5 separate regions of the Homo sapiens genome follow, and all the other regions are linked to region 1. The links are contacts of gene promoters, found by promoter capture Hi-C in blood cells and fetal thymus (Javierre and others, 2016). All regions are on one chromosome and are shown on one strand. The core of a region is centred on a gene start or on the middle of the fragment in contact, and the rest is flanking DNA. Distances in the headings are between cores, read along the strand shown.

What was found. The method cuts DNA at HindIII sites, captures the fragments that hold promoters and counts their contacts. A CHiCAGO score of 5 or more calls a contact.
Region 2: a contact is called between a fragment that was not itself captured here and the fragment with the promoter of TMEM179 in region 1, in 3 of 17 cell types (M0 macrophages, total CD8 T cells and megakaryocytes). The highest score is 6.8, in M0 macrophages.
Region 3: a fragment that was not itself captured here is called in contact with the fragment with the promoter of TMEM179 in region 1 in 2 of 17 cell types (naive CD4 T cells and M0 macrophages); the score reaches 6.0 in naive CD4 T cells.
Region 4: a contact is called between a fragment that was not itself captured here and the fragment with the promoter of TMEM179 in region 1, in 1 of 17 cell types (endothelial precursors). The highest score is 5.2, in endothelial precursors.
Region 5: a fragment that was not itself captured here is called in contact with the fragment with the promoter of TMEM179 in region 1 in 1 of 17 cell types (endothelial precursors); the score reaches 5.4 in endothelial precursors.

The regions. Positions count from the first base shown.
Region 1 is chr14:104,602,415-104,606,784 of GRCh38, forward strand. TMEM179 (transmembrane protein 179) reads right to left here and starts at 2,358. Exons shown (of 4, transcript NM_001286389.2): 1 at 2,023-2,358. The coding sequence starts at 2,327. The HindIII fragment of the contact is 15,381 bases long and covers 1-4,370 here.
Region 2 is chr14:104,158,455-104,162,824 of GRCh38, forward strand. All of the region lies in intron 4 of KIF26A (kinesin family member 26A), which reads left to right. Among named protein-coding and RNA genes, the nearest start is that of KIF26A-DT, 22 kb to the left of the region's middle. The HindIII fragment of the contact is 3,634 bases long and covers 501-4,134 here.
Region 3 is chr14:104,190,977-104,195,346 of GRCh38, forward strand. No RefSeq gene overlaps it. Among named protein-coding and RNA genes, the nearest start is that of LINC02691, 30 kb to the right of the region's middle. The HindIII fragment of the contact is 5,448 bases long and covers 1-4,370 here.
Region 4 is chr14:104,229,405-104,233,774 of GRCh38, forward strand. All of the region lies in intron 1 of LINC02691 (long intergenic non-protein coding RNA 2691), which reads left to right. Among named protein-coding and RNA genes, the nearest start is that of LINC02691, 8.0 kb to the left of the region's middle. The HindIII fragment of the contact is 1,332 bases long and covers 2,196-3,527 here.
Region 5 is chr14:104,338,398-104,342,767 of GRCh38, forward strand. No RefSeq gene overlaps it. Among named protein-coding and RNA genes, the nearest start is that of LINC02691, 120 kb to the left of the region's middle. RefSeq lists an enhancer at 3,789-4,370. The HindIII fragment of the contact is 750 bases long and covers 2,050-2,799 here.

The DNA of each region.
Region 1 (4,370 bases), core at 1,108-3,607:
ATGAACCAACTGTGGCCCCACCTGGCCTGCACCCTCCACCCTCAGCTTCCCAGACTAAAGGGACCTCAAGCGTTGGGAGGCTGACCCTACTCGCTGGCTGTCCCACTCCCTCTTCACACCTGTCTCATTCAGGGAGGCTTCCACCTGCCTGCCCTGCATGCACAGCATGGACTGGGCAACTCTTGGGTTTGGCAACATGGGTGCAGATGACGTCTCAAGCCTCTTCTTGGGACACCAGCCCTGGAGTGGGCTGAGGGAAGGAGGACGGCTGCAAATGGGCAGGACACCACCCTGCGCCCGGCCTGACCCCACCTTGAGCAGGGCTCCAGCCACACAATTTGGGCCCATGGCCCCACAGTACCTGGGTCCTCCCAGGCTGACAGCCAGCTTTCTACTGACCCCCATCCAGAACCTTAGTGTCGTGGGTTGAATGGTGTCCCCCGAAAGATATGCCCAAGTCCCACCCCTGGTACCCGTGACTGTGACTTTGTTTGGAAATAGCATCTTTGCAGGTGTAATTAAGCTCTGGATCTCAGGATATCTCCCTGAGTTTAGAGTGGGCCCTGAATCCAGTGACTGGTGTCCCTGTAAAAAGAGGGAGGACAGAGCAGAGCAAAGGCGCCCTGTGAGGACAGCGGCAGAGGGTGGTGGGACAAGTGGGTTTCAGTCCAGTTGGTGCAACTGTGCTGCAGCAGCCCCAGGGCGCTCCTACCCACAGGCGCTGGGATTCTCATTCCTCCTCCAGAGTTTGCAGCCCCACTCAGCATAGCCCTGGCTCCCTCCCTTCTCCCTGAAGCCCCTCTTCTTCCCCTCTCTGGCCCCTCTCTCAGCCAAAACCAAGCGGTGGGCTCACAGCGGGGGCAACAGGAGGGCTTCCCCACTCCTGCCGCCCACACCCCTCTGAGCCCTTCTCATCTCCCACCTGCGTGCAGGAAGTGAAAACCTACAACAAAGGATGGGGGTGAGGGCAGAGTTTGGGAGGAGCCTGGGTTTCATGAGTGCTCTCCCGGAACCTCTACAGGATCTCGGGCTGCTCCTGGGCACAGCAGGCCTCAGCCAGGGGAGTGGGAGGGCCCACAGAGGGCACCCACAGAGGGAGTGGGTGGGTTCACAGAGGGAGTGGGTGGGCTCACAGAGGGGGTGGGTGGGCTCACAGAGGGGGTGGGTGGGTTCACAGAGGGGGTGGGTGGATTCACAGAGGTGGTAGATGGGCTCACAGAGGGCACCCACAGAGGGAGAGGGTGGGTTCACAGAGGGAGTGGGTGGGCTCACAGAGGGAGTGGGAGGGTTCACAGAGAGCACCTGCAGAGGGAGTGGGTGGGCCCCCAGAGGGCCCCCAGGGTGCCACTGGCTAAGGGTGTCACCGCACCCCAGGTGAACCAGGTTGTATGGGCTCCAGTATCTAGCCGGAGCAGGAAAGAGAAAGAGGAAAATGCAGGCCAGGAGGAGGAAGGCGCTGAGCCCACAAGGCACAGCCCTCGCCCTGCAGTCTCTCTCCAGCTCCCCATCCAAGGCCTGAGCTCGAGGTGGGCCTGGGTGGCTCCCCTCCAGACAGCCATCTGCCGTCCCTTTCCCGGGGCGATGGTGCCGGGTGGGGCTCCCCAGTTCGCCTTGTCACTGGGACCTGGAGAGCTCAGTGCAAGCCCTAGACCGGGCTGGGAGTTGTCGCCGGTCCTGGCGAGTGTGGCCCGGCTGAGCCCGCCCAGGAAGGTCCAGGCCTGCTGGGTGATGACAGTGCAACATCTGCAACCCAAGGGAGCAGATGCCCGGAAGCGGGAGGTGATGCGCAGCTGGGGAGGGGAGGCACTGGCCTTGTACGCAGGACCGGTGGTCGTCATGGTCCCTGGATGTGTGTGTAGACAAAGGGCGGTCTGAGTGGAGGGGGTGAGGGCGGATTGTTGACATTTGCGGGCCTCGGAGCTGCCTGAGAGACGGAGGGACTCGCGCGCCTCCCCGGGGAGGTGGGTCTGGGGGCGCTGGGGGCATGGAAGGGGCGCCGCGCCGGGAGCGGCCCCCACTTACCCCTCGTGTCCCTTGCAGAGGAAGAAGAGCGTGCGCCAGGCGTGCGCGGCGGCCAGCAGCAGAGACAGGAGGCTGGCGAGCAGGCTGAAGCGGCAGGCGGCCGGCGGGCCCCACTCCTGCACCGTGAAGCGCTCGCGCTCCTGCACCGTGAGGTTGGCGCTCAGCCACATGCCCTCGGTGAAGAGCAGGCAGCGGCCGCGGAAGTCGTGGCCGTTCTCGGACAGCGGGACCACCACCACGAAGCTGAACAGGAAGGCCAAGAAGTAGCAGGCGCACTGAGCGAAAAGGAAATTGTTGAGCGCCATGGCCGGCCCGGGCGAGAGCGGCGGCGGGAAGGCCGCGGGAGGCTGCGCCGGGCGGGGAGGCCGCGGGAGGCTGCGCAGTGGCGGCGCCGGCAGGTCCCGCGCGCCCCTCCCGGGACGCGTGCGCATCGGCCGAGCGCGGGAAGCGCCTGCGGTCAGCACCGCGGACAGCTCCTGGTGCGCGCGGGCCAGGAGCCCGGGGTCCAGGGGCCAGAGAAGGGCGGCCTGCGGGAGATGCGGGAATTTTACCAGGTCGGCCTGGAGGGACCGACCCTGTGCCGCTAAAGACTTCGGGAGCCACCTGTACGGGCCTCACACAGGCCGACTCTGGGTCGTCAGTTCCTCATCAGCTCGAACGAAAGGAGACCAGGAGAGAGAGGGCGGGGCGGGGGGTGTTGGAGGACACCCCCAAGGTGCTCATAGTGAGGTGTAGGAGTGCGGTTTGCAGTCCAGGCTGAAGTGATTCCTTTGCGGGGGTCCCGAAATGCAATGTATGAGGGGAGGGGCCAGATCGTGGAGGAGTCGGGGTCCAAGGGACTGGGACAGAGGTCATCCTCGAAGAGATGGGGAGGGTGAGGCCAGGTGTGGGCAGGAGGGGGTGGACCGGGAGCTTCTGCAGCGCCAGCCCTCCGCGGGGACGTGTGTTACACTGCCTGACATGGGCAGGACCCTGGAGCTGCATTTGTAAGATAAATAATGGGTGTCCCGAGCGCCTCATTAAGACATCTTTGCTGAGATGGAAATCGCTGAGGCATTAATTAATAGAATTAATGCCTTTTCTAGTTGCCTTTAAGACTAAGTCACCTTTAGTCCAATTCCCAGAGTGAGGAAGCCTTAACATTGCTCCTCCTGGTTTAAAATTCCATCAGCATTTTTGTTGCAAGCATTAAAAAATATTTTTGTTTTATTGACTAAGTAATATATGCTCATTTCTTAAGTCAAGTAATAGAGATATGTATACAATAAAATAGAAAGCCTTCTCCTCATCCCCCTCCCCTACCCCATCACACTACCAGGGGTGACCACTTCAATAGCCTGGCATCTATTTTTCTAGACATTTTGCTAAGCACATAAGCACACACACAGAATTAACAAAAATGCTTCATACCATACATAGTTTTCTGAAGGCTGATTCTTTTATTCAACAAAATGTCAAGGAGATTATTCCCTGCCTACACATACACCTATTTTGTTCTTTTTAATAACTGCATAAGACTCCATTATAATGATGATTCCACAATCTGCATAACTATTCCTCTTAAGGTGGATGTTTTGTGTCTCCAGTTTTTGCTGTCTCAAATGCTGTCATGTGAACATTCTTGTACACATATGTTTGCGTTCTTGCACAGGCATTTTTATAAGAGAAATTCTTAGAAGAGGAATTGCTGGGTCATGGGGTATGCACATTTAAAATGTTGACAGAAATTGCCAAACCGGCTTTAAAAATGTTGTTCAGCCGGGCGCGGTGGCTCACGCCTGTAATCTCAGCACTTTGGGAGGGCGAGGCGGGTGGATCACGAGGTCAGGAGATCGAGACCATCCTGGCTAACATGGTGAAACCCCGTCTCTACTAAAAATACAAAAAAATCAGCCGGGTGTGGTGGCGGGTGCCTGTAGTCCCAGCTACTCGGGAGGGCGAGACATGAGAATCGCTTGAACCTGGGAGGCAGAGGTTGCAGTGAGCCGAGATCACGCCACTACACTCCAGCTTGGGCGACAGAGCGAGACTTGGTCTCAAAAAAAATAAAAATAAAAATAAAAAAATTAAAATGTTGTTCAAATTTACCCTCACATCTGGGTTGTAGACCCCTCCCCTCGCTGGCTGAGAAACAGCAGTTGTAGGCAAATCCTGCCAGTTTCCACAGAATGCGCTCATTGCTGTGTGAACTTGGACTTGCTTTGGCATCATGAGGCTGAGCATATCTTCTTACGCTTGCCACCATTTGCAACTTCTTCTCTTCTGTGGATTGCATTTCATTTTGCAGTCACTTTAAAGTCGGGCCTTGAAGGCCAGCCACGAGGTCAGCAACGGCCACTCTTCTCTTG
Region 2 (4,370 bases), core at 1,068-3,567, 440 kb before region 1:
ACAAGGGGAGGGGCAGCAGGGCTTGAGCGGGTGCCCACGGTGCCAGCCGGGCTTGTGGTTGGCAGGTCCAGCTCCACCAGGAGCATCCCACATTGGGGGACCATGTCTGACATCACTTGGTTGCTTTCCCAGGCCCCGAGCTCGGGGTGCCTGGTTTCTCTGCTCTCCCCCCTGCTGATCCCCACCACTGCCAGAATGCCAGGCCTGAGGCCCTGCAGGCACCAGGTCCTTGCCGACTGGTGGTGTGGATGGGGTGGGCCAGGCAGAGGGAACAGGAGAGCAGAGGTGGGGAGGGGGAGTTGGCATGGAGGGGCGTGGTGTGGGAGCCTCCACTGGGCCCTTCCCGGCAGGGCCTTTGGTCCTGGGACCCGTGGCAGAGCCTCCTCTCATCCTGATGGTGTAAGGATGCGGATTACAGGATGTAATTGCCATAATGCCTGGTAATGGCAGGCCCAGCCGCGGGTCAGTGTCCCATTAGCAGCCCCACGCGGGTGCTGATAAGCTTGAACATGCATCACACCCAGCGGCCAGAGACGAGGGCGTCTTATCAGCGCCGGCCCTGGGGACCGTGTGGTCTGATTGCAGAGTGACGGGGCATATGATTAGGGCATTGTCGCACGCCGTGTGCCGGGCTGAGGGCTGATGAGCACACCATCGCGTTGGAGCACAGCCAGACCGCGCACGTGACCAGTGTGGCCTCAGCGCCACCCCAATTAGGTGCCGAGAGCACGGCTGGCTGGGACCCTGGTGGGAGCAGATGGGGGTCTTGCCCATCCTGCTCTGGGGTCCCCCGTGTGTGGGACAGCCCACCCCGTCACAACCGGCCTAGTCCTGAATTAAAGGGCCTGTGCGGCTGTTCTGGGCACAGCCCTGTGGCCGTGCTCCTTTGGGTCCTGTTTGGCAGGAGGATTTGAAACGTGGAGACTTCCAGAAAAGAAAGAATAGCTCCAGTGCTCAGAGCTCCCCCGGTCCCTGATGCTAAGCCCCCTGGTGCCAAGGAGGGTTCCTGACACTGGGAAGTAAGGGTAGGGTGTCGGCCCCCAGGCCGGTGCGTTGGTGACCTGGAGCCCAGCAGAGCGGCCCTGGCTGCCTTTTGTTTGGGAGCCGAGGCCGGTGCCGCTTGCCAGCCGCGCTGCCTGCTGACCTTGGGAAGTTACCATAGAAACCAGCGCATCGGGCTGGGGACCCAGAGGCGGTTCTCCCAAGGCGGGGGCGCTGCCGGCTGCCATTACTTCCAGCCTGTTAGGCACCCTGGGTCTCAGCGGCTTCTGCGAGGCCACTGCAGGTGGCAGGTCGTGGTTCAGGTTGTGGCGGGGGACATCCTGGCAGGTGGGCCCTGTCGGTGGATGCCTGACGTGGGCTGGGGTCGGTGGTGGGTGACCTCCTCTGTGGGGCTGCAGTACCCTGAACCCTCAGGGGTGAGATCAGAGGGGGTGTCCACTCCTGGGTTTTGTGGGTGTGGGGCTGTGGCTCTGAGTGGGGACGAGTCCACCAGGAGACAGTGGAGCTTCAGCCCCCGCCCCAGGGGTCTTGGGCACGTGCTGAGGGTACCTTCTGTGCTCCCACCTCCACCCTCGAAGAGGACCTGGGAGGGAGTGGCACTGACCCCAGCCCCTGCTCTGCCCTTGGGAAGTTTCCAGTCTGGAGGGACCGAGGGGCACCTCTGTGGAGGCAGCCTTAGATGGCAGCACGGGACCCGTGTAGCAGTCAGGGCAGAGTGGCCTCTCAGGGAGCGGGCTTTGAGGGTTGAGTAGGAGTCTGGCAGGCAGCATTGCCAAGTGGAGACGGAATGGGGTGGAGGTCAGGAGTTTGAGTTTTTGAATCCCGTGGGCCTGGGGAGTCTCAGCTCTGCTGCTGCCCACAAGCACCCCCCAGCCGGATTAGGGCACCAGCCTCAGGCTGCCCCCTGATCCTTTCAGTGGCCTCTGGGCTCCTTATGTCCACACAGGGAAGCTGGGATGTGGAGTGATCCCATGGGTGCCCGGGTACCCGAGTTTCGTTAATGCTAACAGGGGCATAGATAGAGCAGGGGCTGAGCCCCATGCCCTCACCCCCTGGGTGGGGCCTGGGGAAGCTGCAGGGATTGAGGCAGCGCAGCTGTGACAGAGCTTGGCATGCTGGCCCAGCAAGTGTTCGGGAGGGTGGGGCGCGTGGGCCGGGTGGCCCCGGGGTTAGGAGTTCTCCGAAGGCTCTGGTGACCCCCAGGGTTAGGAGTTCCCTGAAGGTTCTGGCAACTCTGATGACGCTGTCTGAGGCCCCGCTGGTTTGTGCCGGCGCTGGGAGCCTCTGCAGTGCCTCCTCTGAGGTACTTCCGTCATCATACTCTCACCTGCTCGCTGCCATGCTGGTATGGGGGTCCCCTCCAAGACCCCAAATCAAATGTCTTTGAGAAAACTGCTAAGGGAGGTTGCTTCCATTGGGTGGGGAGCACCTCATGGCACTTGCAGGTACCCAGGCCCCCCACTCCCCACCCCACTGTGGCCTCAGCAGAGCCCCCGTGTCAGCCTGGATGCCCAGGCCCATGGACGGTCAGGCTGGCACCCAGCAGAAGTGCAGCGCCTGCGGGGAGAGTGCGCTGCCCGAGGCTTAGCTGGGGACCCACATGGAAGGCACTGTCTGGAGAGGTGTCCCCACCTGTCTTCTGGCCTGTGGGTGAAAATCCAGGACACAGGAAGTGTGGACCACAGCAGGGCTGGGAGTTGGAGGGGCTGATGCCTCAGTCTCCAGCTGCCTCCAGCTGGGGTCCAGGGTCCCCTTCGCAGGTCTGCAGGACCCAGCTGGGGTCCCCCGATGCCTGCCCTGGTTCCTTGGTGGGGCAGGTCCGGCAGGTGGCAGGTGCCCCTGGGGTGAGGTGGGGGTAGGGAGGGTGGGGCTCCGTCCACCAGCCTCGCACGGCCCAGTGTGGAAGCTCTGGGTTGGCCATAAGTGATTCCTGCACGCGACAGAACAGGCTCGTGTGTCTCCTTGGGGTAATTAAGGGCCTCACCATCAAGGCCAACTGCCTGTGAAATTACCCTCTTGTTTGGAAGCGGTGATTTTTCTCTGTAAAAAGGAAAATATTTCCTTTTCTGTTGACATGAATCGATGGCCAGGGCCAATGAGCCCAGGCAAGGCTGTGGGATTGCAGCAAGACACCTGGTGGCTCTGGGGGCCGTTCAGGTGCCCGCTGTCTCGTTCATCCTCGCTCACGCGTGTTCTGAGCTTCTTCTGTGAGCATCTGCCCCCAGACCCCCTGCTGGCAGGGACATAGCTGTGTAAACTGGTGTCTCACGGCAGGGGGTAGTTGCTATAGAAGCAGGAGGCGCAGGGGCTGGGGACACCCATCTCAGGGCATCAGGGCAGGCTTCCTGGAGGAGGTGTCCTGTGAGGATGGGGGCTGTTTATGCAGGTGAAGTTCCTGCTTTTCTGAGTCTTCCCTTCAGAGTCAAACCCCTCAGACTTGCCCACTGAGGGCCGCCGCTCCCTGGCAGTGTTGGGTGTGGGCAGTGTCTGCTGTGGCCTGGGGGAGACAAACCCCACTGCTCAGAAAGTAAGTTCCTGCCTCCACAGGGCCGTGGGCCCTCAAGGGCTGTTGAACCCAAGCGTGGTAGCCAGATGGGGGCTGCTGTGTCTGATGGTCGTTTCCATGGGGGCCTGAATTTCATCAAAGGAGAAAGTGCTCGTTCTGGGGCCTCGTTAATGCAGTGGCAGGTCTTTGAGTCATACCAGTGAGGTAAGCCCGTAAAAGCAGGCACCGGGAGGGCCCAGCAGGCTGGGGTGCAGCCTGTTGGCGATGGGCCCCAGGAGGAGGAGGCGCCTCAAGTTAGGTCAGATTGTGGGGTGGAGATGTGGGGCGAACAACCTTCCAGACTTCCAGGGCTGATGGAACCACAGAGGACGCCCGGTCCCAGCCTCTGTCTAGGCGGCCTGGGCCCTGGGTGTGCCCGCTGTGGCCCAGGCATACCTGAGATCTGTGCTGCGGACGCTGCTCCTGGGAGGGTCACTGGAGGGGCAGAGCCCTTGTGTGGCCGACGGGGCAAAGGGCCAGCCTGGTTTTGGCCTCTGCAGACCTAAGGCTCCAGCCTCAATCTCCCTCTGGCCTCTCCAAGTGCTGCTCCAGTCTCCAGTGCTTGCCCGGCCTCCGCGTCCCCTGGAAGCTTGGGGGTGTGGGTGCCGATGCCCTATTGCCCACAGCCTTGGGTTGCAGCTGGTACCTTGACCCTGCCCAGCCTTGGGAGGGGCTGCAGGGGAGGGTGGAGGAGCTGGCTCTGGGTGGGCGTGACCTCTCCCCATCCACTTGAGGCCGAGCCAACACCCTCCAGTGAGGGCTGGTGCTGGGCGTCCCCCACATCCATTTCCAGAGGAGGAAAGGGGTCCAGGGAGGCTCCCTG
Region 3 (4,370 bases), core at 904-3,403, 410 kb before region 1:
TGTCCTGAACCCCAGTTGCCTCCATCCCGTGCCTCCTCCCTGCTCCCCGCCATGAGCCAGGCTGCAGAGGTGGGCTGTACTCCCAGACTCAGCATCAAAAACTGCCCTGTGACCTAGGAAAGCCCCTTGGCCTCGCACTGGTGAAATGACACTGACCTTTGATTTTTGCACTTTAAAGGGTGGAGGTTGGAAAGGTCTGGCGAGAGCCACAGCCTGGCCTTGCAGGAGCCAGCTCCGACCTGTGACCTCAGCCCCCTGGGCCTCAGTTTCCCCATTATGGAAATGGGAACTTGGAGGCTTAGGGCTCCCTGCACAGTGGAGGTGGGTGGGTCCCTGAATGGGGAGAGCAGAGGCTTTGGGGCAAGAAGTTTTGGTGGGTGAGAGGCAGAGGTGGGGAATGCAGGCAGGGGCCTCCCCTTGCACCTGCATTCAGGGGAACAGAGGACGTGTGGGCCAAGACCCTAGGAGGTCTGAGGACTGGTCCCAGGTTGGGGTGGGCATGGTGGCTCGGCCACCGTGGGGAGGCAGAGGGCTGCTCGTAAATCCACGCTGCTGTCAGCTGAACGGCAATTGCGGATTGAGGCGGCCATCGGGGCTGACCTCCTGGGTCTGACGGGTCCATCACAGAGCAGCACCGCAGGGAGAGGCGGCTCTGCCTGGGAACCCACCTGCACGGACCACACGGCCCAGGGCCTGCCAGTTCCTGCCTCCCGTTCCTGGGTGGGGCTCACCTAGTGTCACAGAGACACGGAGTGTCGGGCAGTGACTGGCCTCAGTGCCCAGACCAGCTGGGCTATCTGAGTGCAAATTCTGCCTGCTGTGTGACCCCAGGTGTGCTACTGAACCTCTCTGTGCTCCTCTGAAACTGGAGATCCGTATTCACCCCTACCTCACTGGGGCTCAGTTAGATGATTTGACCCGGAGTATGCAGCTTAGTGGTGCCTGGCACATAAGGAACGCCAATGGATTTGGCTCCAATGGGGATGGCACGGACAGGGGTAGGATGATGTGTGCACAGTGCAGCCTCCCGTCGGGTCCACGGCCAGGCTCTGCTCCCACCAGCTGTGTGGACTCAACATGGAGCCTGGGAAATAGAAAAAGGCCTGTGAAGTGCCCGGAGCCAGCGGCACAGGGTGGGGGCACCAGGAGCTGCTGCCTGGTCCTCTCTAGGGCAGTGACTATTTGCTGCCATTGCCACGGGGATTTATCGGGGCCCCTCCATGTCCAGGCGTGGGCAGGTATCCGTGTCACCCCGTGTTACAGACCAGGAAGGCCAGGTCCAGGGCAGGCCGGCCTGTGCAAGGCTGACGGGAGGAAGGAGAGCCAGGCCTCTCCCTGCCTCGCCTCGCAGCAGAGCCCTGGGTCTGGGCAGGAGGACGGGCGGCCACAAGGAGGGCCAGACCCACCCTGGGGCCACACTGGGTTGCGTCTGCCCCTGGGGTGAGCCTGGTGGAGCCGGAGGGGCACTGCAGAGGGGCAGAGGGGTCTCCTCGCACTCGGCATGGACTCTGCCCCTGCTCCTGAGACTGGTTGGCCTTGAGGGCTCCTCCGGGAGCCTGGTGCCCTCACTCTTCAGAACAGCTCAGCACCCACAGCCTGGCCAGCTGGAGCAGCTGGGTGGTGGTTCAGATGGGATGGTGGGGTCAGTGGGACAGGCTCTGGCTTCTGGGGGCAAGGAATGAGCTGGAGGCAGGGGAAAAGGAAGGGGCTGGGCGTTGGGCGGGCTGGCACATGGGATGTGCCTGCTGAGGCCTGTGGGCAGGTCTTGGTCTGGGGACAGCCCTGCCCCTGTGTGTACCTGGCTCCCTGCTCCAGGCAGCTCCCCAATCTCAGGCTCAGCTACCCGGGGCCCTCTGCCCTCGTCTTTCTGCCCAGCTCTTGGGGGCTGTCCTGCTTCTGTCTCCCAAGGGCCTCACCCAGAGCTGAGGCAGGGGTGGGGATGCCCCCTGCCTGTGGCTGGTTGGCCTGCTCTCTCTCCTGCTCCCTTTGCTGTGAGTTGGGTGAGGAGGGGGCTCCGCCGCACTTGAGAGCTTCTAGCAGCAGCGCACCAGGCACAGGCATCGTGGCGTCGGGTGGCAATACATGGGGTGTGAACATAGAGCCGGGGCAGGTTGAGCAGACTCGCAAATGAGCTCCCAGCCCCCAGGGAGGCCTTGTGGGAGACCCCAGCCCACTCCCAGGGACCTACCCCAGTGCACCCCTGGGGAAATCAAGGCTGGGGTGGTCTCCTCTCGCAAGGCTGCTCAGCCCTCTCCTCCCCAACCACCGAGGCCTCTGCTGGGCGAGATCTCACAGCCTTCAAAGGCAGAGCCCTGGTGCCCTTCTCTTGGCATCTGTGCCCACTTCTCGGCCCCCACCCCGGCCACTCCCCCCCACCCTGTGGATGTGTCTTTCATCTGTCCCTTTGTGGCCCTCAGCCCTGTCCTCCTCCCTGCACTCTCCCTGGGCCACCTGCCCCTGCCCTGGGGCTTCACGTCCCCCTGGGCCACCTTGGCCCCCAGACCCCATCCCTGTGCCCCACATCTGCAGTTCCATCGTTTCTCTGGTATCTGCCCCATGTCCCTCCGGCCCCCAGATCTCTCAGACTTGTTCTCCCCTGTGCACCCCTCCTGGGGGCCCTGTTTCATCCTCTTCCGGAACCGGGGCATCAACTTGGGTTCCCTCCTCACCCTCAGTGCCTCCACCCAGCCCCAGTGCCATGGCAGGGTCGGGACCCTCAAGCTCTCAGGGCTGGTCCAGGAAGAGCCTCTGTCCAGGTGACCTGGGCACAGGGGGAGCATGGCAGTGGCGGGGGCAGGTGGGAAGGGATTGGCTTAAAATGCAGCATTCACTTAAAAACACAAAGAACATTTGTTCACCATGAAGTCAGGTCCTGCTCTGGTTGGTCTGTTTTTGGTTTTTACCTGGTTTTTTGGTAATTACCTGGTTTGCTTTGAGCTGCTTCCAGGCATCAGCCAGCCCCATATCCTGGTGGGGTTTCCTGGGGCCCCATTTATGCTCCCTTGGAAGTACCAGAGGGTCTTCTTTTCTCTTAAAGAAACAAATATTTGCACAGTTCAGCGCTGGGAAGGCCTCTGGCCGAGGTGGCCCGCGCACCCTGAGCCATGAGGGGTCAGGGCTGGGCAGAGGGGAGGGGGTGGATGAACGGCTTCTGCAGAGACAGTCTTGGCTCCACAATCTCCTCAGCTCAGGAGTGTGGATGTGCCATCCTGGAGCAGGTGCCTGTCTCTCCATGGTCCTGGCTGGGTGCCGTGGGTTCCGGACGGCAGGGCACCTGCCCATCCAGGGCTCCGGAGCAGCGAGGCTAGGCTGGGCCTTCAGCTCTGTCCTTGCTGGGCAGCGATTTCCTCTTCTGGACAATGGGGAGAGCTGTCCCTCGTCCTGGAGGGTGAAGTGGGTGGTGTGCGTGATGATCCCCGGTGCCCAGCACATGGTGGGCTCAGTGAAGCCAGACTTTTCTAGTTCTTCTTTAGTTCCCTAGACCTAAGCTCTCAGCTCGTGCTGTGTCAGGGCTGTGTTGAGGGAGGGAAGTCAGGTGTAGACTGAAGCTCTTAAGACTCTTAAGAGCTTCTACGGTCCAGGGTGTCACCTACGGTCCAGCAGGTGACTGATGGTCTAGCAGACGATTAGGCCAGTAGAGAGGCAGAGAAAGTGCGGGGGACTCAGAGGAAGGGAAGTGCTTCCATCTGGGCCAGGGGTGGTTAGGGAAGACTTCCCGGAAGAGGAGGTGCTTAGGGGAACCTGGAAGGGCAGAGAGAACCAGAGATGCAGGGGTGAGGGTCCTTCTGGCAGGTGTCTGTTTCAGGGGATGTCTGTGTTCGGTGAGGCCAGGGCTGAGCTCTACTGTTGGCTGAGCTGTGGGGGCGGCCAGGCAGGGCCCAGCATGCCAGGCTGAGGATGGGGCCAAGGGGGGCACGGCATGCTGGCCCCCCTGCTTGGTGTTCACTCTTGGGGACTGGACAGTGGTCCTTTCAACGAGCCCCCTCGCAGTCCCTGCCCTGGGGTCTCTCCATAGACCACTCTGCACACGCAGACCCTCCTGCTAGCGGACCGGGCCACAGCGAGGAGTGAAGACCCTGTGCAGAGTTCTCGTGCGGCCAAGGACAGCAGCCCACCTGAGACAGGTGCCCTGTAGTAGTGGCGGGAGTCAGAGACACCCCAGGGACAGCAGCAGGGGCTGCTTGCGGTTTGGAAGTCCCACCTGTGCCCAGACCACCAGCAGGGTCTCTCCTTCCCAAACCACCCCCTTTCCAATTCTGGGGGCGTCAGAGACTGCTGGGGGCATGGGGTGAGGCAGGGAAGGGTGGTGCGGGAGGCTGAGTGGGAGGGAGAGGGTGGGATGAGGCCCTGCATGCTGGACAGGACTCTGA
Region 4 (4,370 bases), core at 1,612-4,111, 370 kb before region 1:
GACGGGGTGTCCATCCTGCCTGGGTAGGATGCATCTGCAGGGTGCCTCCCACCACACGCTAAAGTGGGGTCATCACCCCTGGGTGGCCTGGGTCACCAAGATGCTACCCCACCCAGCCTGATGGGATGCCTGAGCTCCAAGCCTGCCCCCTCACAGGGGAGATGATGGCCCCACGAAGGCCCCCCTGGGTGCTTGTGGTGGCCGCTCACTCAGTCTCTCTCTCTCCAAAGCGGCCTGCCCGTCCGCGAAGTCACTTAGCTGGGATCTAATCGGGTTTCACAGGGGCATAAATTACTTGGCTAGAGGTTGTTCCCGGGTGTTTCCACCCCGGGCCTGTTATTTACACACCGTGCGGTAATGTAGTCACGGCCTTGGGTGCGCAGTATTTATGGTGTTTGATCGGCTTCCAGCCCAGGCCGCCTGTCCAGGAACATTTGTTGAGATGTTGTGCAGAGCCGCTGGGGACCTCTGCCACAGGCGGGCATCAATCTACCTGGAGCTCCTGCGGCAGCCCTGCAGAGCCTCAAAAGGGCAGGGCGGGCCTGTGGTGCCACCCTGAGCTGGTCACTGTCTGCAGATGGCAGCTCTAGGAGTGATGGCTGAGGACGAACAAGGGTGCGAACTGTCACTGACATTTCCGTGGGGCGTGGACGTGACACATCCCGAATGCCATACCTGGCTGTGGACAGTCGCACCGTTAAAGGCAGCAGCGCTAACTGCCGTTCACGGAGCACCCACTGTCTGCTAAGCTCAGTGGAAGATCCTTTGTTTTATTCTCTCCGTGAGTGCTTGTCGCAGCCCTGCAAGGTAGGTGTCCCTGATGGGAAACTGAGGCTCAGTCACTGCAGGTGACTTCCCAAAGGAACACAGCCTGGGAGCTCCATGTGGCAGCTTCCTCTGGCTCTTACAAGGGGAAGGATGAGCTCCCGTTGGTTGCTGGGGTCCCGCCCCTTTGCCTTCATGTCTGTGATGGTGGAAATGCTTCATAAGGAGTGTAAAGTGGTTTTTGTTCCCGACCCAGAGAGATCTGGTCACGGTAATTCTGTATCTGCTTGCCTATATTTATCCCCCAAGTCCGGCTGGTGACAGGGAAGCAGATGATCAGTGCCAGGCCTGATAAATTGGACCCAGGGCTGAGGCGGGAGAGAAACCCTGTTTTATTGTTGAAGACAAAGCCGTCGGGCAGGAGGCATATGTTGTGTTGGAGCCCTCGCTGCGACGGAGGCCCTGGGCCTCAGAGCAATCAGGGCTTTCACGAGCACCCCCCACCCACTACCTACGTGGGAGGCAAGGACCCCCATTAGCCCGGCTGGCTGTGGGGGAGGGGCTGACAGAATGTCAGTGGGGTGGAGGGGAGAGGAGGTGATCAATGAGGACTTATTGACTTGCATCTTTCCCCACGACTTGATTAAGACCACTATGGAGATGAGGCCTGAGGAGGGGGCTAGGGCCAGAGCCCCGGGCCAGTGTGGCTTAGGGGATCTTTTATGTTTGGAGGGCAGGAAGGGAACAGAGAGCTGCCGGCTTTGTCAGATGCCTGAAGAGTATTGATCCATATTAGAAATGATAATGAGCCAATTCTGCTGGGCTGGGAGGCCTTAACCATTTCATTGCTTACAAGGCTGTCCTGGTGGGGATGTTGGAGGAGGCTCAGCCTCTAGCTGCTCCTCACCATGTTTCTCCTCGCTCAGGTCTGCAGCTTCCCAGGCCACGACCTGAGTCCACTGATGGTCCTGGAGGTCTGGCCAGAGGGGCAAGGGCAGCAAAGGAGAGGAGCACAGGACTGGGAGCTGGAGCCTGGTTCTGGGATTGGCTAGACCCTGCGGGGTTTGCCAAGCACCTGGTGGGTGCCTGACATTCTGTGCATCTCCTCGGGCACCTCTAAGGTGGTCAGGATGACCCTTACTGCTATAATGACAGATGAGATGAAGGCATGGAGGCTCATAGTTGCCAAGAGGCCAGGCCTCTGCCTGCCCCTCCAGCACTCTGGGACGTGATGCTGCCCCTCAGACCTGCCACTTGCTGATGGAGCTTTGACTTTTGTTGAGTCATTTACCCCATCTGGGACCCACTTTCCTCATCTGTAAAATGACAACCACAGCAGGCTTGCTGAGATAATTCAGAGAACAATGACAAGGGCTCATACAGTCCAGCCCTGCACCAGCACTTGGTGGTGGGGCCTGGCCTGAGCCTAAAGCTTGACTCTAGCTCTGTGTCCACTTTAGTGAACATTTAAAGTTGAGGAGTCTGAGTTTGCTCCTCCATGGAGGGAGGACATGCCATTCATCTTTCTAAATGGTTGTGAGAATCAAATGAGTCTATGCATGGGGAGTACCTAACATGTAGTTGGTGGTTAACAGAAGATGGCTGTCATCATTGTCATTGTCACCATCACCATAATCATCATATCACCATCACAACACCCTCACCACCATCATCATTACCATCATGATCATCACTGTCACATCATCACCATCATTACCATCATCATTACCATCACCATAACACTCCATCAACATCACCACCATCATCACCATCGCCATTACACTCCATCATCAACATCACCACCATCACCATCACCACCACCATCATCACCATCACCATTACACTCCATCAACATCATCAACACCATCATCATCACCATGACCATCACCCCATCATCATCATCACCATCATCACCGTCACCGTCATCATCACCATCACCATTACACTCCGTCATCACCACCACCATCATCATCACCATCACCATTACACTCCATCATCACCACCATCATTACCATCACCATCATCACCATCATCATCATAATCAATATTATCACCATCACATCACTCTCACCACCATCATCACCATTACCATCATCACCACCATCACCATCATCATCACTATTGCATCATCGTCACCACCACCATCCTTACCATTACACACCACCATGAGCATATCACCACCATCATTACCATCATCTTCATCACCATTATCATCACCATCACATCATCATCATTATAGCTATACCATCACTGTCATCAGCATTACTATCACATCATCATCACCATCATTGCCATCATCATCACCATCATCATTGCCATCATTATCATCACCATCATCACCATCACTATCATATCACCATCATTATAATCACTATCACTGTCATCATCATCGTTATCACCATCACATCATTACCATCACATCACCATCATCACCATCATCATCATGGTCATTGTCATCATTATTATCATCCCTGTCATTGTCATCATCTCTTCATTATCATCAACTTGGCAGAGATTGTGGTTTTGTTCCCATCCCAGAGAGATCTGAAGATGCTAATTCCATCCTTGCCTCTATTTATCCCCCAAGTCCGGCCTGCAAGGGAGGCTGCTAATCTGGCTGCTGAGTATGCCAGATCCATGGGATCCAGGGATCAAGTGGCTCAACCCCCTGGGATCCATGCACTGGCATTTGTCTGTGGAGTCCAGTGGTAGGTCTTCCCACTACCAGGACACCAGGCTGGGTAGGCAGGCAGCATGGGGAAAGCTTGAGGGTCAAGGCTGTGAAGCTGTGGTGACTGATGTGGGGTCTGCTGATGGGGAGGGGGTGCTTGTGCAGGTGGTATGGGGCTTACTCTACTGCTGCTCCCCAGGAGTAGGAGGAGGGGCTCCAGCTTAGGATGACATATTTGGCTGCTTTCTACACAAAGAAGATGCCTTTGTTCAAGCTCAGGCTGGTGCTGGAGAGAGCATCATCCTGACCTGGGCACAGCTAGGGAACATCTCTTCTGGGGTATCATCTTATGAACCATTAGAGGCTTTGGCTTGGGCAGAACTGGGTTTTAGTTCCATCCTGACCCTGACTTGCTGATATGGTTTGGCTGTGTCCCCACCCAAGTCTCATCTTGAATTGTAGTTCCCATAATCCCCACACGGGAGGTAATTGAATCATAGGGGTGATGATTTTATAAGGGTCTTCCCCCCTTTTCTTGGCTCTCATTATCTCTCCTGCTGCCCTATGAAGAGGTGCCTTTTGCCATAATTATAAGTTTCCTGAGGGCTCCCCAGCCCTGCAGAACTGTGAGTCCATTAAACCTCTTTCTTTTATAAGTTACCCAGTCTTGGGCAGTTCTTTATAGCAGTATGAGAATGGACTAATACAATAAATTTGTAGCAAGAGTGGGGTGCTGCTATAAAGATATCCAAAAATGTGGTAACAGGCAGAACTGGGTAACAGGCAGAGGTTGGAACAGTTTGGAGGTCTCAGAAGAAGACAGGAAGATGTGGGAAAGTTTAGAACTTCCTAGAGACTTGTTGAATGGCTTTGACCAAGTTGCTAATAGTGATATGGACAATAAAGTCCAGATGATGGTCTCAGATGGAGACGA
Region 5 (4,370 bases), core at 1,175-3,674, 260 kb before region 1:
ATTTGCTTACTTTTTTTTTTTCTAACCTATTACTAATTCTTCCCACATCTTCAAATGTCCTTTTTGTGCACTTTTCCACATCACATATTCCTGTAAACCCTCTGCCTGAAGATCTTTTTCTCCTCTCATCTGGGCTGGCTGCACACTTCGTCCCGGGACTTGCCTCTGCTGATGCTTTTCTCCCAGGTGGGGGTCCCTGTTTCCTGGATCTCATTCATGTCTTCCTTTCTTGGTTTGCTCCCTTGTTTGGCATGAACCATTTTGTGGGTAAATGATGTGAAAAGATGGTTCATCAGCCCTGACAACCTTCAATATTCTGGTGTCCTGAAAAATCTGCTCTGATCTAGACTGGTTGCCCTGTATGCCTGGATCTTCCCTCACCACCATACTGGATAGTCCTTTCACTTTTCTCCTATTTTCTAGAGAAAACTAGCAACCACTAATCTTTTTTCAATCTCTATAATTTTGTCATTTTGAGAATGTTGTATAAATGAAGTTGTAAAGCATGTGACCTTTTGAGATTGTCCCCCCTCCCAGCACAATTCCCTTGAGAGCCATCTGAGTTACTGCATGCATCAACAGTGCTCCTTCTTATTGCTAATACTCCATAGCATAGATGTACAGCAATTTGTTCAACCATGCACCTATTACAGGAAATTTTGGTTGTTTCTAGGTTTTGGCTATTACAAATAAAGCTGCTATGAACAACAGTGTACAGATTTTGCATGTGAATATAAATTTTTATTTTTTAGGGTAAACGACCAAGAGTGTAATTGCTGGGTCATAGGGTAAGAGTACGTTTGGTTTCATAAGAAATTGCCAGACTGTTTTCCAGGTGGTTGTACTACCTTAAATTCTCACCAGCAATGTATGAGTGATCTCCAGTTTCTCCACATCCTCCCCAGCATTTGGTATTATCACTATTCATTTTAGGTGTTCAACTGGTATGTAGTGGTATCTCATCATGGTCTGAATTTGCACTTCTCTAATGGCTAAGGATGTTGCTCCTTAAGTGTTGTGCTCTGGCATCTTGTTAGCCTCATCCTAGTCCTGGCTCTGCCACTCCCCCTTCATCGTCAGTCCTAGAGACACCTGCTGCTGCCAGTTCCTGAGATTTTAAATATTCTTGGGAGCAAATCAGACTTATTCACAGTTTTTCCCTTGCTGGCTCAGGAGTTGTCTTTCTCAAGTCTGCTAAGGCAGTTAGCACTTGTCTATCTGCTTTCCAGCTTCCAAAATTTTGTTGTGTTTTACTGTTTACTGTTAGTTGTTTATGATTTAGTCTGTCATAAAGTACACTTCCCCTCTTCCTGTTGTGTTCTTCTCATCCCTAAGAGTTTATGTCATTAAAAAACCTCTCATTATAGTTTTAGTAGGAGTGTGGAGAGAAAGTGAGATGCATATGTTCAGTCTATGATCACAATCAGAATTCCCTAGAGGATTTTCAAAAGGCATTTCTGAGTAGGCACAGTGGCTCAAGCTTGTAATCCCAGCACTTTGGGAGGCCAAGGCAGGAGGATCACTTGAGCTCAAGAGTTCAAGACCAGCCTGGGCAGCATAGTGAGACCCTGTCTCTACAAAACTTTTTGAAAATTAGCAGTGAGTGGCAGTGCATGTCTGTAATCCCAGCTTCTTGGGAGGCTGGGGCAGGACAATTGCTTGAGCCTGGGGGATTGAGGCTGTGGTGAGCTATGATTGTGCCCCTGCACTCCAGCCTGGATGACAGATAGACCCCATCTCAACCAAAACAAAAACAAACAAACAAACAAAGGCATTTCTTTGATTACTGAAGAGGTTGAACTTACTTCCAAATGTTTATGAATCTGTGTATTTCCTCTTCTGTGAAATGCTAGTTCAAATTTTTTGTCCATTTCTTCCCACGGGGATTTTTGCCTTCTCTTATCGATTTGTAAAAGCTCTTCATATTTTTTGTATTCTGTTGGTCAGTTAGATGTGTTGCAGATACTTTCTCGTAGCCTGTGACTTGTCTTTTCACTTTTTGTTGTTGTTATTGCTTTTTGTAGAGAAGGGGTCTTGCTATGTTGCCCAAGCTTGTCTTGAATCCCCAGGTTCAAGCAGTCCTCCCACCTCAGGCTCCCAAAGTGTTGGGATTATAGGTGTGAGTCACTGTCCTCAGCCTTCGTTTTCACTTTTTAAATGGTTTCTTTTGCTGAATTGAATTTCTTAATTTTAATAAAATTGCCTTTTGTTACAGCTTTCCCTTCACGCTTTGCTCTTTTTGTGTCTTGAGAAGCCCTTCCCTCTTCAACAGTCTTTTTAGTTATGCCTTTCATGTTTAAATCTTTGATCATTTGGGATTTATTTCTGAGTATGATGTGAGGTAGGGATTCATTTTCTCTACTTAAAAAATGTATGGAGAGCAAGTTTCCCAGCATCTTATCAAAAAACATCCTTTCTACACTGATCTGCACTGTTTATTCTGTCAGTTATACTTCAAGTTTCCATTAGTATATATTTTTCTGTGTTCTCAGTAATCTTCTGTTGGTCTTTTTGTCCATATCTGCACCCATACCATACAGTTTAATGACTTCAGCTCTGTGCTAAGTCCTGCTGTGTTGCATAGGTCCCAGCTTGCTTTCTTCTTCAAGAGCATCTTGGCTAATCTTAGTCCTTTGCTCTTACATGAAAAAACCTCTTGTGATTTTTGTTTAAGTGTGTTAAATCTTTAGGTCAATTTGGGGAAAACTGACATGGTGATGAAGTACATAGTATGTTTCTTTATAAAATATATGATACATCTCTCCTTTTACTTACACCTTCTTTAATGTCTTTGAATAAAGCTTTCATTATTTTTCCCATAACGTGTTTGCACATCTGTTGTTGGTTTTATTCTTAGGTATTCAATATTTTTAATTGCTAGGGTAAATGACATTTTAAAATTTATATTTTAAGACCATGGTTGGTATAGAAATCGGTTTGTATAGATTGTGATTGTATTGAAATGCAGTTGGATTGGGGTATTGATTTTGTGCCCAGCAAACTTGCTAACTATCTTCATTCTAATTAGTATTAGTTTTTTTCCCTTCTACTTAAACAATCATATTATCTGCAGACCATGATCACATTTTCTCTTTTCTTTCCTCATGCATTTATTTCTTTGCTTTACTGAAACTGGACTGGCCCTTTGGTTAACTTTTGACTTTGTAAAAAAGCCTATTAAAATTATGAGTAACAACTGCCTTAGTGCATGCAGGCTACTATATCAAAATACCTCAGACCAGGCAATTTATAAACAGCAGATATTTATTGCTTACAGTTCTAGGGCCTGGGAAGTCCAAGATGGAGGTGTCAGCAAATTCAGTGACTGGTGCGCCGGTTTCTCACAGATGATGACTTCTCCCTGTGTTCTCATAACGCAGAAGCCGGAAACAAGCTCCCTCCAGCCCCTTCTGCAAGGGCACTAATCACCTCCCAAAGGCCTCATCACCTCTTGATACTATTGCATGGGGGTTAGGCTTCAACATATGAATATTGGGGGGATGCAAGGATTCAGACCACAGCAACTACTGAGACAATGTGAATAGTACACACAACCTCCAACCCGGTACAGAAGGAAAAATCAGGAATAAAAAATGTCTAATTCACATGAAGGTCAGAAAGGAAGAGGAAAATAAAGGTCAGAGGCAAAGTATGGAATTCCAAACGTGGAATGCCGAAATGGAGAACTCAGGTCCGGAGCCGGTGAATTGCCCTCCGCGCTTATGGAGATCGCCTGCAGCGCCACCTGCAGGCTGGAGGAGCACTCCGGGCCCCAGTTCACCGCCCTGGACCCAGCTGGCACCACCTGCGGTTCCCAAGGACGCATCCAGTAAGGGGCGGGGCGGGGCGGGGCGGGGAGGGGCGGGACTCACCACCCATGTGACCTGCACTGGCCTGGAGGAGCTGCCTGACTGCAGCGGACTCTGCCAAGAATTTCAAGAGGTGCAGTGGTCCAGTCATAAAGCAACATGAAAACGCTGTAAAAAGAGTTTAATCGCGCACACGAGGCAGACATTGCATTTAATTTATCACCCTGCAAAATTAAAGCCATTCTGGGGTTTGCTATCGCTCATGCAGGGTGGAGTTATTTATTGGACACTGTCAGAGCCGAGGGGATCTGAAATTCAGGTCAGGGAAAGTCAAGTTTACAAAGGCCCGTCCGGGTCCCTAGGGGCCCAGATGGCTCAGGGCAATGTTCCTGTGTCTTGCTGCTGCAGAGGCTGAGGGGAGCAGGCACTGTGTTCACATCCTTGATGAGAAAGCCGAGCTCCGTGTGGGTGCGTGCAATCCTGCCTCCCCGAGCTCCACGCTCTGACCCTCTAACTCCTCAGACCACTAAGTAGGCTGTCCCCTCACCTGCCCCTTTGACG